2 separate regions of the Homo sapiens genome follow, and region 1 is linked to region 2. Evidence: promoter capture Hi-C in human tissues and cell types (Jung and others, 2019). All regions are on one chromosome and are shown on one strand. Each heading gives the region's core, a stretch centred on a gene start or on the middle of the fragment in contact. The rest is flanking DNA. Distances are from core to core; before and after follow the strand shown. Region 1 holds the start of LOC105373459 (a long non-coding RNA gene). Region 2 holds the start of RDH14 (retinol dehydrogenase 14).

Region 1 (6,993 bases), core at 4,425-6,924, 1.0 Mb before region 2:
TATTAAAAATCTGTACAGGTTGTCTGAATGAATACTAGGATAAATATTTTAGTACAACTAATGAGTTAGCTTCTTGCTTACTAATTAATCTGATCAAGGTTGGATTAATAACCTATATCTTGTATTTCTCACTCATTGGTTCTAATTCTTTCAGACCACAACATTCAAACCACAACTAATACGTCTACTTCCCCCTATATGTGACAACCTGCTAGACATTTAATAGCAGGTGTCAAGTATCCTTTAAGTTTTCTCTTTCCAGGTAAGTCATGCTTTTCCTCCACTTACCCGTCATATGACATGGATTCTAGGATCTTCACCTAGTCACTCTCTGGCTCTCTTGTTGTTAAGTGTTCCTAACATATTGAGTGTTCATTTACCTCCAATACTCTAATAGACATAGTGTTTTTGTTTTCAATTGAATGAGAAGACTTTGACAGATGGTATAAATGGATTTAAGTTCTAGCAGAAAAAAAAAAAACGCCCCTCACATGTTTCTCTCTCTGTTTTTTTTTCTCTCTCTCTTCTTTCTAAAGCTTAAAATTTTTTCTGCTTGGGTAATACCATTCAGGACATAAGCACGGGTAAAGATTTCATGACGAAGATGATAAAAGCAATTGTAACAAAAGCAAAAATTGACAAATAGGATCTAATTAAACTAAAGAGCTTCTGCACAGCAAAAGAAACCATCATCAGAGTAAACAGACAACCTACAGAATGGAACAAATTTTTTGTAATCTCTCTGTCTGACAAAGGTATAATATCCAGGATCTATAAGGAACTTAAACAAATTTACAAGAAAAAAAAAACTCCATTAAAAAGTGGGCAAAGGACACAAACAGACACTACTGAAAAGCAGACATACGTGTGACCAACAAACATATGAAAAAAAGCTCAGCATCACTGATCATTAGAGAAATGCAAATCGAAACCACTATGAGATATCATCTCAGACCAGTCAGCATGGCTATTATTAAACAGTCAAAAAACAACAGATGCTGGCAAGGTGGTGGAGAAAAAGGAATGCTTTCACACTGTTGGAGGGAGTGTTAATTAGTTCAACCATTGTGGAAGACAGTGTAGTGACTCTTCAAAGACATAGAGGCAGAACTACTGTTTGACCCAGCAATCCTATTATGTGGTATATACCTAAAAGAATATAAATCATTCTACCGTAAAGACACATGCACATGTATGTTCACTGCAGCACTATTCACAATAGCAAAGACATGGAATCAACCTAAATGCCCATCAATGATAGACTGCATAAAGAAAATGTGGTTCACATACACCGTGGAATACTATGCAGCCATAAAAAGGAATGAGATCATGTCCTTTACAGGGACATGGATAGAGCTGGAAGCTATTATCCTCAGTAAACTAACACAGGAACAGAAAATCAAACACAGCACATTTTCCCTTATAAGTGGGAGATGAATGATGAGAATGCATGGACACATGGAGGGAACAACACATACTGGGGCCAGTCGAAGGGTGGGAGCTGGAAAGAGGGAGAGTATCAGAAAGAATAGCTAATGGATGCTGGGCTTAATACCTAGGTGATGGGGTGATCTGTGCAGCTAATCACCATGGCACGCATTTAACTATGTAACACACCTGCACATCCTGCACATGTATCCCTGAACTTAAAGTAAAAGTTGGAAATAAAAAAAAGTTTTCGCTTTTTTAAAAGGGAAAGACTACAACCGTTATGGAAAACAGTATGAAGGTTTCTAAAAAAATTAGCAATAGAACTACCTTATGATTAGGCAATCTTACTTCTGGCTGTATATCCAAAGGAAATGAGATCAGTATCTCAAAGAGATATCTGCACTCCCGTGTTTAATTGCAGCATTAACAAGTCCCAAAATATGGAAATGACGTAAGTGTTTGTCAACAGATGAATGAATAAAGAAAATGTGGTATATATGCAATGGTATATTTTTCAGCCATAAAAAAGAAAACAATCCTGCCTTTAGTAACAATATGGATGAACCTGGAGGACATTATGTTAAGTGAAATAAGCCAAACACAGGAAGACAAATACTGCACAATCTCACTTATATGAGGAACCTAAAAAAGCCAAACTCTTAGAAGCAGACAGTAGAATGGTGGTTACTGGGGCTGGGGAGCAGGATGAGATGCTGGTCAAAGGGCACAAACTTTCAGTTCTAAACTAAATGAATTCTGGGGATCTAATGTACATCATGCTGTGTATAGTTAATAATACTCTATTTTTTTTTACTTGAAATTTGCAAAAAGAACAGATCTGTTTTATAAACTTTTATTTTAGGTTCAGGGGTACATGTGCAGGTTTGTTATACAGGTAAATTGCTTGTCATAGGGGTTTGTTGTACAGATTATTTCATCCCACAAGTAATAAACATAGTACCCAATAGGTAGTTTCTCTATCCTCTCACTCCTCCCACCTTCCACCCTCAAGTAGGCCCTGGTGTCTCTTGTTCCTTCCTTCCTTCCTTCCTTCCCTCCCTCCCTCCCTCTCTCCCTCCCTCCCTCCCTCCCTCCCTCCCTCCTTCCTTCCTTCCTTTCCTCCCTCCCTCCCTCCTTCCTTCCCTCCTTCCTTCCTTCCTTCCTCCCTTCCTTCCTTCCTTCCCTCCCTCCCTCCCTCCCTCCCTCCTTCCTTCCTTCCTTTCTTTTTAATTTTTTTTGAGATGGAGTCTCACTCTGTCACCCAGGCTGGAGTGCAGTGGTGCAATATCGGCTCACTGCAAGCTCTGCCTCCTGGGTTCACGCCATTCTCCTGCCTCAGCCTCCCAACTAGCTGAGACTGCAGGTGCCCGCCACCACACCCGGCTAATTTTTTGTATTTTTAGTAGAGATGGGGTTTCACTATGTTGGCCAGACTGATCTTGAACTCCTGACCTTGTGATCCACCCGCCTCAGCCTCCCAAAATGCTGGGATTACAGGCATGAGCCATTGCACCTGGCCTTTCTTGTTCCTTTCTTTGGGTTCACATGTTCTCAATGTTTGGTTCCCACTTATAAATGAGAACATGTGGTATTTGGTTCTCTGTCCTGTGTTAGTTCACTTAAGATAATGGTGTCTAGCTCCATCCATATCCCTGCAAAGGACATGATCTCATTCCTTTTTATGGCTGTATAGTATTCTATGGTGTATATGTACTACATTTTCTTTATCCAATCTATCATTAATGGGCATTTAGGTTGATTCTATGTCTTTGCTACTGTGAATAGTGCTGCAATGAACATATTCATGCATGTGTCTTTATGGTAGAATGTATTTTTTTTTTGAGACGGAGTCTTAATCTGTTGCCCAGGCTAGAGTGCAGTGGTGCAGTCTTGGCTCACTGCAACCTCTGCCTCCTGGGTTCAACTGATCCTCCTGCCTCAGCCTCCCAAGTAGCTGGGACTATAGGCACACGCCACCATGCCCAGCTAATGTTTTTGTATTTTTAGTAGAGATAGGGTTTTGCCATGTTGGCCAGGCTATCTTGGACTCCTGGCCTCAGGTAATCCACCGGCTTTGGCCTCCCAAAGTGCTGGGATTACAGGCACGAGCCACCGCACTCATCCCTATGGTAGAATAATTTATATTCATTTTGGTGTATACCCAGTAATGAGATTGCTGGGTTGAATGGTAATTCTGTTTTAAGTCCTTTGAGAAATCACCACACTGCTTTCCACAATGGCTGAACTAATTTATATTCCCACCAGCAGTGTATAAATGTTCCTTTTCCTCTGAAACCTTACCAGCATCTGTTATTTTTTGACTTTTTAATCATAGCCATTCTTACTAGTATGTGATGATATCTCATTGTGGCTTTGATTTGCATTTTAAAAGAGCAGATCTTAAGTGTTCTTACCACACACGCACACAAAATGGTAACTCTGTGAGGTGATAGATACGTTAATCAGCTTGATTAGGACAGTTATTTTACAATATATGTGTATATCACATCATGTTGTACATCTTAAATATATACAGTTTTTGTCAATTATACCTCAATAGACCTGGAAAAAAGTAAAAGGGGCAATTGGCCATACCGGCTTCAGCTGTGAACAGAGGTACAGTGTTGGTGGTGAGAAAATTGTCCTGCCTTTTATGGGGCTTTTTCCTCTACTCCATTCACAGGGGCCTTCTGACAGTTATTTCATATTTCACACACTTTTCTGCCTTCAGGCCAGAAGATATACTCTTATGTCTCCATTCATTCATTTATAGATATGTATTGATATGTATTCAATACTCTTCTAGGACCTGATTGTATAATGGTAAACACAACCAATGTTGTTCCTGCTTTCATAGAGTTTTCATTTAAGTGGATAAGACAGACAAACAGATCAAAGGATGAAGAGAGGTTTCCAGGTATGTGTGTGTGTGTGTGTGTACGTGTGTGTGTGTGCAGATATAGAAGAAAATGATTCCCAGTACATGCAATGGAGTGGGAGTAGGCTCCAAAGCATAGATTGGATTAGGAGAGTAGTCCTTCTGGTGCCTGCTGCATTGCTGATTTCTAGCTCATGAGCGAACACTGGGATGTGAGTTCCACAGAGGCAGAGCACATGCTCGCCTCATTCATCCACCTTCTCAAGGTCTTTCACCAAGGAAAACACTGGTCACTGGGAGAAGAAACGAGGGCTGGCAGGCCCCCAAGGGGGCATCAGCCATCCACATTCATCATGAGAAAGATCAAGGCTGGAGATGGGTTGAGCAGATGCAAAGCCAAAGCTTCTGTGCTTTCCAGCAGAGTCTGCTGGAAACCTGGGAGGAGACAAGGCTGGGTGAGACCCATGGTAAGGCCCTTATGGGAGTTTGATCCGTTTGGCATTTTTACTTTATATATGAAAGTCATCTCTTTGCCAAGGCCACAGACCATGCTGTCTGCTTCTTTGAATCTCTTGATCAGCACAGAGCTGGGCATGCCAAGTGTACTCAGAGAGTTCTTGCCACATTATTTACCTTGCAAATTTGTACCTACTTCTTTGCCCTCTGATGGGAGGAAGGCACAGTGCATTGTCCCTTGATTTTACTGTAGGTCCACACTGGAAGAGTCTCCTTTCTGTTCTGATACAATCATATTCCAAGGCCCTATTCCAGTTTTTTCTGATCCATGAAGTTTCCTCTGATTAGAACAGCCCGTAGGTTCCTCTCCCCTCTCTAGGCTTTTGTTGTATTTAAAGCCCTCACACCTAACACCAGAATTCATCTCAGATTGCAGGACATGGATGAGTTCTGAATGCAGGCTCTCTTGGAGGATAACTGGGCTTCTCTCTTCTCTGTGGGCACAGCCTACAGGGGACTGGGCTAGCTGGCCAGCACCCATCCAGATAGACTCTTTGGGAAGGTACATCCAGGAAGGGTGGCTGACTTGGGGACCAAGATTGCATGTGCACCCCCTGGCTGCATAGCTCATTTCTACTGTCTGAATCACATCACATGAGCCTAATGTTTGTTTTGGAGAAGGTTGCAAAATTAATGGATGAAATAAATGCAGCAGATGCTACCTATTAGAGAAGAATTTTATGTAGCAGGCCATGAAAATTTTGTTTGCAAAATAAGATCTAATTAGCTTGGCTTGTGCTAGAATATAATGAATTAAAGTGACAGAGTAATTAATAACAATAGTTTGGGTCTCTTCCCCAGTTTTGCTTCCATTTGTGTTATTTGTTGAAATCGTTTTTGCCAAGGTCTCCTATTTGAAACCAACCCTGAGAGTTTTTCCTCAATGTTCACATGCCCCCATATGGGAGATGATTCTAGCAAAGCAATTTTTTTCCTATAGGCTCCATGATCTTTATTATTTTGGCTGCTGGAAAATCTTGGCTTTGATCCCTTCCTCGTTGGTCTGACAAGTGTTTTGAGGAGTCTCTTCTGTTTTGCCATCCATCCGTCATTCTGTCCATCCAGCAATGTTTTGCCATCCATCCATCATTCTGTCCATCCAGCAAACATCTATGAGCATTAGAGAATTCAAGTAAAAGATGGTGCTGTTGTTAGGGAGCTGATAACTTAGTGAGAAAGACAGAGAATAGTGTCTCAAGAGCTATAATACAGCTGTGTGCTGGGTATTATCAAGAACAGAGTGTGTGAATCAGCTTGGGGGCAGTGAAAATAGTTTCAGTAAGTTTTTTTCAGCTTTATTGAGGTATAATTGACAAATAAAAGTCTTACACTGCATATTCAGGGTATACAGCATAATACTTTGAGATATATATATATATATATATATACACACACACACACACACATATTGTGAAATGATCTCCACAATCAAGCTAATTAACATGTCTCTCATCTCATATAGCTACCATTTGTGTGTGTGTGTCTGTATGGTGAGAATACTTAAGATCTAGTTTCTTAGCAAATTTTAAGTAAAGAATACCTTATTAGCTATAGTCACCATGTTGTACATTAGGCATCCAGAACTTATTCATCTTATAACTAAAAGTTTATAACCTTTAACCAACATCTCCCCATTTTGCCCACCCTTTAACCCCCAGTAACCATTGTTCAACTCTCTGTTCCTATGAGTTTGACTTTTTAAGATGTTGCAGCAATAGTGCAGTATTTGTCTTTCTGTGTTTTATTTCACTTAGTATATCTTTTGTTTTATCCCTGTGGTCACAAATGACAGAATTTCCTTCTTTTTTTAAGTTGGAATATTATCCCATTGTGCACACACACCACACACACACACACACACACACACACACACACCACATCTCCTTTATCCATTTATCCATCAGTGGATACTTAGCTTATTTCCACAGTTTGGCTATTGAGTTTCACTGAGTTTTGAGGGAAAAACAGAAGTTATATTGAGTGGAAACTGCTGATGGATTTAAGAAGAGAATGACATGATTGGATCCTTAGCTTAGAAAGATTACTCTAGAAGCACTGTGGAAGACGGGTTGAAGGAGGACAGGGAGGAACCCAGAGGATAATATCATATCACATAATCCAGCAAGAAAAGCCTGGGGCCTGAGCTAAGACAGAGCCAGTGAATAAAG
Region 2 (7,272 bases), core at 847-3,346:
ATAAGTTATAATGAGGTCTCTTTCCTCCCTTCCAAATAGAGTTATTAATTTCATGGCCTTTGGACCCATCTGGTACAGATTAATCATTTCATTAAGTTCCATGCATAAACTACACAGCAGTTACACTGCAGGTCTAAGGATTCCTCCCTCCTCTTTTCCTCCTACCCTCTCCTGCTCTCTCTACCTCCACCTTCATCTCTACTCCACCTGTACATATGTATTCCACCCCTGGCTCTAGATGAGAGAAGACCACAGCTGAAACACATCTTCTGATGCTCCCTAATTTTATGTAAACCAGTCCAAAATATATCAGTTGTGACATGTGACACTGAGTACCTACCATTTTGTAGGTGTCCTCCCATGCAAAGACCACAAGAGGTACGCAGACACAATCCTATCCTCTAGGAAACTTGAAACCTTAACAATCTGGTCAAGGAAGTCAAATGTGCAAACTCAAACAGCCAATACTAGAAGGCTGTTTGTCTTCAGTGCCAGTGAGGGTCACACATGACCCTGAGGGTCACACATGAAGGGAGCAGAGATCTTTATAGGCTGGAAGTGGTCAGGAAAGAAAGACTTGAGGTAGCCTGTGATTTTGATGGATGGGCAAGATGTGGATGGGTAGAAAGGACAATAAAGTGGAAACATATGCTGGGGGATCAATGAGTTTGAGTAGCAGCTTCAAATTGGGGATAGGGTGGTGTAGGACCACCTCTCATGATTCCTGTTCCTGGTGCCTTGTATAATCCCCAGTAAGAGTGCTCTTTCCCACCTCTGAGCTCCATTCTCATTACTCATAAGAAACCTCCTGGAATCCATCCCTTTTTCTTTGTATTCTGACTATTAGTTGCATGTTACATCCTTCCCAAATGTAAGGGAGTGGAAGATGGATTATCACAATTATTGGGGAGTTTGTCTCAAACGACACAAGCTGTGGTTCTTTTTCCTTGTCTGGAGAACCTGCAATGGGTGGAGGGTGGGAAGTGGGAGATCACAGTTCCAGAAAGTAAGCACCCTGAGAGCAGAAATGGTGTCCCATTTCTCTGTGGCTCTAACAGGGAACAGGCAGGGCCAGGCACATATTGGATGGAGAGGCAGACGAACGAATGAGTCTTTAAAAGTAGCTTGGTCTACAGCTATGAAGTTTGTAGCTTGAAGAAGGGTCCCTGTGACACTAACCCTGATATTAATGAGGCATTTTACAGTGAGCCAAGCACTTTGCCTTCCATCGTTGTGTGTAATAGTCCTATGGAGAGGGCAGGGAGGCATTTGTAAATGGCCTGCTCAGAAGCCTATATTTACAATAAGTCCAAGCTTTTCCCACTGTACCTCTGCCAGTGTGAAGATCATTTGAAGATGGCTTTCTTTTTTTTAATAGGGACCAATGACATAATGTCTTGTTCAGTGGTTCTCAAAGTGTGGTTCCCAGATCTGCAGCAGCAGCAGCACCTGGAAACTTGTTAAAAGTGCAAATTATCAGGCCCCATCCTGTACCTATTGAATTAGAAACTCTAATACTGGGGCCCTGGTTTTTTGTTTTCGTTTTGTTTCATTCCCCCACCCCGAACCCCCACCCCAAGTCCTCCAGGTGATTCTGATGTGCATTTAAGTTTGAGAACTACTCGACCATTCTATTTCCAACTGATTCATGTTGCTTAATTCTTTGTCTCATCTATGAAAAACAGTCCTACCTCAGACTTCAGCTTGTCAGGGCCCATTCCTCAGAAGGTGAATTGAACTGAATTTACAAGTCCCAAGAGCCCTCAAAGGAAAACACACGAAATGCCCTGAGGAGTGGCATTTGTAACAGGGCCTGTACAGAGATCTGTGATTCAAAGTACTCATCAGACATTCCCATGGGGAAGTCCGCCACTACTCTGGGATTTCAATACGTATGAACCCCAGCACCCTGAACACTGTGCTGGTTGCCCAGCCTCCATCATTAGGCTGGGAGGAGCTTCCACGGAGGGCGCAGGACCCAGGGCGCTGAACTCTCACAACCAATCAGGCGACCCCCCCAGAGGGAAACTACAAGTCCCAGCATGCCCCACGCGCACCGTCAGGGGCCGACCCGCCGCGCCCCAGCGTTCTCCGCGTACAGGTGGTCTCTTGGGTTCCGGTAAGGCGGCGGCTGCGGAACTCCCGTGGAGGGGCCGGTGGGCCCTCGGGCCTGACGATGGCAGTGGCCACTGCGGCGGCAGTACTGGCCGCTCTGGGCGGGGCGCTGTGGCTGGCGGCCCGCCGGTTCGTGGGGCCCAGGGTCCAGCGGCTGCGCAGAGGCGGGGACCCCGGCCTCATGCACGGGAAGACTGTGCTGATCACCGGGGCGAACAGCGGCCTGGGCCGCGCCACGGCCGCCGAGCTACTGCGCCTGGGAGCGCGGGTGATCATGGGCTGCCGGGACCGCGCGCGCGCCGAGGAGGCGGCGGGTCAGCTCCGCCGCGAGCTCCGCCAGGCCGCGGAGTGCGGCCCAGAGCCTGGCGTCAGCGGGGTGGGCGAGCTCATAGTCCGGGAGCTGGACCTCGCCTCGCTGCGCTCGGTGCGCGCCTTCTGCCAGGAAATGCTCCAGGTGTGGGCCTCGGGGGGCCGGGCTGGTGGGGAGGGCCTGGGCACGGTGTGGGAGGGGACTGCGGGCTGGGGCTGAGCCGCGAGGGACCGCCCTGGGGTTCAGGGTGTCACCTTGGGAACCGCTGAGGCTGAGAGGAGTCCAAAAAGCCACTTTGAGGCGGCCGGGAAGCTGCAGGGTTGAGAGGGAAAGAGAAACTAACTGGGAGGGCTGCCTTCTGTCCTCTAAGGATGTCGAAAAAGAAATGGGCCCAAGAGAAAAATAAATAAACCAGTTTCTGAACGTTTCATTTCGTTACGTGAGGACCGCCCCGAAGTAGATCCATGGCCTCTGAATTGTTTTTCCTGTGTCAGAAGTGAATTTGCACCAAGCTGTGTCTTCAGAACCCCTGAGCACTGGGGGAAGTTGCTAGCTAAGGACCTCATATCAGTCCTTTAAAAAAAGTTCTCCTTCCCCCGGCCTCTGCCCCTTTTCTGCTGGGGTAAGGAGCTCGCTGCCACCAGTAAACTCAGCACCATCCTTAACGGGACTGTGGCCTGATTTCCAAGTAGAATACATTTTGGAACCCAGTGGTCATGCTCCATACAGAGACAGGAATAAAAATAACACCCAGCATTATTGAAGATCTGTATGCCAGGAGCTGTGCCAAGCATTTCAGATTTTCCTTTTTGTCTTAAATGAAAATGAAGTGTCCTTGCCTATAACTGTCATTGAAGCTACACAGTAACCCTGTGGAGTAGGCATTATTATCATCCCTGTTTTACAACGCGAGGAAACTGAGGCATAGGAAGGCTAAGAAACTTGCTTGTGGTCTGTCTCCAGAACACTTGCTTTTAACCCTTGTTCTTTCCTCCTGCTGCCTGGCAGTGAGGTGTGAGGATTTCTTTGTGCAAATGGTAAGTAATTCCACATAAGTGGATGTTCTCCGTTGAGATTGAGGTAGAAGAGTTTCTTGCAGGGATAACTGGCATTCAGAGGGCATTTGTTCAGAAGAGTGAAATTTAAAATTAGCTGGGACAAGAAAGGTGCCTATATGACGTAGAGTCTCTTGAGTCTAGAGAAGAGGTTCCCAAATTTTCTCAGTAATTTTTTCATGATGCCCTTAGGCCAGAAATATTTCCCAGTTCATTTATTTAGAAAGTTTATTTTGCCAAGGTTAAGGATGCACCCGTGGCAGAACCTCAGGCGGTCCTGAGGACATGTGCCCAAGGTGGTCGGGGCACAGCTTGGTTTTATACATTTTAGGGAGACATGAGACATCAATCACATATGTAAGGTATACATTGGTTCTCCTGGAAAAGTGGGACAACTCGAAGTGGGGGCTTCCAGGTCATAGGTAGATGGGAGACAAAAGGTTGCATTCTTTTGGGTCTTTGATTAGCCTTTTACTGAATACAATTTACATGTGCAGGAGGGATAGAGGAATAATCACTTATGTCTTAGACTGGCTCAGTGAGTCTGCATTTTCACATAAACAATACGGCAGAGTCAGCAATCAGATAAGCATTTATCTCAGGTGAGCAGAAGGATGACTTTAGAGTTCTGTCTTTTGTTTGGCACTTGTGAAGATGAGCTATCAATTTATGAATACATTGCCAGGGTGAAATTCAACAGAAGTGTTTTAGGGTAAAGATCTTGAGGCCCATGTGGGCAAATTATGAGGGTGATATGTAGCTTCTTTTTCTTTGTAGCTATCTTATTTAGGAATAAAATGGGAGGCAGGTTTGTCTGAGGCAGTTCCCAGCTTGACTTTAACCTTTGACTTAGTGATTTTGGGTTCTGAGATTTATTTTCCTTTGACACAACCTAATAAGTAGTTATGTCCTAACAACTTAGTAGCTATTTGAGAAGATAACATAATTGAAAGAAAAAAATAATATGTTTATTTTGTTCTTAAACAGCCATAACTACTAATGGGAAATGTATCTCTGTTGGTCATTACACCAGTGTCTGAAACCTTGGAATCAGATTGGACACTTCCACCCTCATTTCCTGTTCTAGGTAGATTTTTAGCATTGTTCTTGTTTTTTATTACAGCAACTGCTAACAGCTGCTTAAAAGTCAGCTCCACAAAGAAATAATGTCATTGAAAGGAATATAGCACAATGTAATGTTCAAGCTGTGAACCACCTGGAGCTAGTAGTTTTGAGGTATTGAGCAAATATCACTGTGTTTCCCTCGAAAATTTAAAATATTCCACAACACCCTGAGAGTTTGCTGCAATGCTGTAGGCCACAGTTCGGGAGCTGTTGCAGAACTAGAGAGTTGGTTTTTTGTTTATTGCTAGTATTTAATTATGTGTAACACAGGTTAAGAAATAATACTCATCAGTGAGATTTTGGAAGCATTAAAGATGGATCTTTCTGTTCCTCTTTAAAATATAGATGGGGCTGGGTTTGCTTCTTTGGCACTTGAGGCAGAACTAATTAAAAAGTGAGGACACAAAGAGATAATTAAGTTGTCCTTGCTTCTAAGTAAGTATTTCTGTTCCTGCCTGGCTCTGAAGTTAAGTGACTATAATTAGAAGGAAAAAAAAATGGAAATGTAGATTTCCCACAGGTTGGTATTCTTGGTATTTATTTCATTTATCTCGTAGAATTTAAAAAAATAGTAAATGACAAAATTTTAAAATAACACAAGCCCAGCAAAGAATGCTGGATAACAAATGATTAATTCAGGAAAATCTTCCAAAGGATTTGTGAAAAAGAATACTCCTTTCTTTCCCCCATGAGTGAACTCTTGCCTTCTTTTTGAAGTTGACTATTGGAAAACCCAAAGATGCTTAGACAGGGCAGAATGAGAAATAGTTAATCCTCTGACAGGTGGGCTTCGATAACAGTTGTGAAATGTAACACATTTTTCTTTTCACTTATAGTTGGCAGAAGGGCCAGTGAAATTTGAAAGTTGACCTCATATTAATCATGGGTCATCACAGTGTCTTTACACTTGGAACATGTGCATTTCTTTGTCCATCAAAAGAAACAGAACAACCGAGAAAAGGCTAGAGAAGACCATCTTACATGATTTAAGGAATAAAAAGACTTCCCTATGAGAACAGTCTAAATTTTAGGACTTTAATTTGGAAAGATACAGAAGCATAAGTTCAGAGTATAAAATGTTGACTGTACAGATCTCCTAGAGTCCCCTTTACGCTGGATATTTTTATATTACCTGATTATTTTTTTCTTAATCTTTGATTATTCTTTATGAATCTCGATTTATTCATGATGTTCTCTCCAGTGTTAAGTTTGCATTTCTGACCTTTTCTATTGCTTGTTTCACTTTTAAGGAAATGACTTGAAGTTGTTCCACCCCCATGGTGCCATTTACCCTGAGAGAACTACAGAATAAAGCAACCATAAGTTTGCCCTTGGTGTTGATAACCAGTAGCTCTGGGAATAAACTATGCTTACCTGTTTTCTACAGCATATGGTCTGTCTAGCTTTCATTGCCTCTCTAGCTGTTTTGAAAATCCCAATTAGAAAGCCATGCCAGCTTACTAATTAAGAAAATAGGCCTTGGTGTCAAAGACTTCATCTTCAGATCTGATCTTATTTTGCTACTTAGGAGTTCTGATACTGGGCAAGTCACCTAGCCTGTGAGCTTCATTTGCTTATACAGTTGTTGGAATTAGATGTGGTGACATGCGAAAAGCACAAAGCCTGGCTCCTATCAAGCTTCTGCATCTATTTTTTTTTCTATTTTTCTCTCAATTATTGGAAGCTCATAGAAGCATTTTGGGATAGAATTTTAGTAGTTTGCAAGTATTTTTAAACATTTTATCATAGGTACACTTATAATTTTGATATGATCTCAGTATTAACCTGATAACTCCCAAATTGATATTTTCCTAGTTCAACTGAAATTAAAGGGAGAAATATGGGATTGTAGGAGTGCCTTGTCCTCAAATTGACTGTATTTCTGTTTTGAGAAAGATCTTGGTACTGATCACGTAGTCAACTTTCTAATGCAATGTTAAAGTTTATATATTTGTAAATGTTATTGTTATAAAAGCATAAAACCAGAAATTAAGTCTTAGATTTAGTTTCTACATCTTTTATTGGAAGATGACTGTAGATAAATATCTTTCTGTATATCATTTTAATAAATGAGAAAAAAGAGCTGTTGAATGAAAGATCATGAACATCAGTATTTATCTGAGGAACATCCTGCGGAGGAATCCCTTTCCCCATTTATTAAACACAAAATTGCCAGTGTTTCAAGTAGTTCTCTGATCGATAGACCAACAACTGAAATTAAATGCTTTTAGTCTCAAGTGCCCATTTTTATTAAAATGTAATTATCATGAACAGAAAAAGCAATACAAGGCGTGTGTTCTTAATAATTCTGCCATTCTCTTTTTGACATTTAAAGGAAGAGCCTAGGCTGGATGTCTTGATCAATAACGCAGGGATCTTCCAGTGCCCTTACATGAAGACTGAAGATGGGTTTGAGATGCAGTTCGGAGTGAACCATCTGGGGCACTTTCTACTCACCAATCTTCTCCTTGGACTCCTCAAAAGTTCAGCTCCCAGCAGGATTGTGGTAGTTTCTTCCAAACTTTATAAATACGGAGACATCAATTTTGATGACTTGAACAGTGAACAAAGCTATAATAAAAGCTTTTGTTATAGCCGGAGCAAACTGGCTAACATTCTTTTTACCAGGGAACTAGCCCGCCGCTTAGAAGGCACAAATGTCACCGT

The links. The method cuts DNA at HindIII sites, captures the fragments that hold promoters and counts their contacts. A contact is called where the count stands out against the background at its distance.
Region 1: a contact is called between a fragment that was not itself captured here and the fragment with the promoter of RDH14 in region 2, in 1 of the 25 tissues and cell types used here (mesenchymal stem cells).

The regions. Positions count from the first base shown.
Region 1 is chr2:19,599,126-19,606,118 of GRCh38, reverse strand. LOC105373459 (a long non-coding RNA gene) reads left to right here and starts at 659. Exons shown (of 4, transcript XR_939780.2): 1 at 659-755; 2 at 4,238-4,348. The HindIII fragment of the contact is 6,100 bases long and covers 2,625-6,993 here.
Region 2 is chr2:18,555,477-18,562,748 of GRCh38, reverse strand. It overlaps RDH14 (retinol dehydrogenase 14), which reads left to right and starts at 2,096. Exons shown (of 2, transcript NM_020905.4): 1 at 2,096-2,569; 2 at 6,941-7,272. The coding sequence starts at 2,177. It overlaps NT5C1B-RDH14 (NT5C1B-RDH14 readthrough), which reads left to right. Exons shown (of 11, transcript NM_001199104.2): 11 at 6,941-7,272. The coding sequence ends at 6,965. LOC105373456 (a long non-coding RNA gene) reads right to left here and starts at 2,573. Exons shown (of 6, transcript XR_007086234.1): 1 at 2,058-2,573. RefSeq lists enhancers at 1,687-1,906, 1,917-1,966, 2,027-2,076, 2,887-2,936 and a silencer at 2,167-2,676. The HindIII fragment of the contact is 6,430 bases long and covers 287-6,716 here.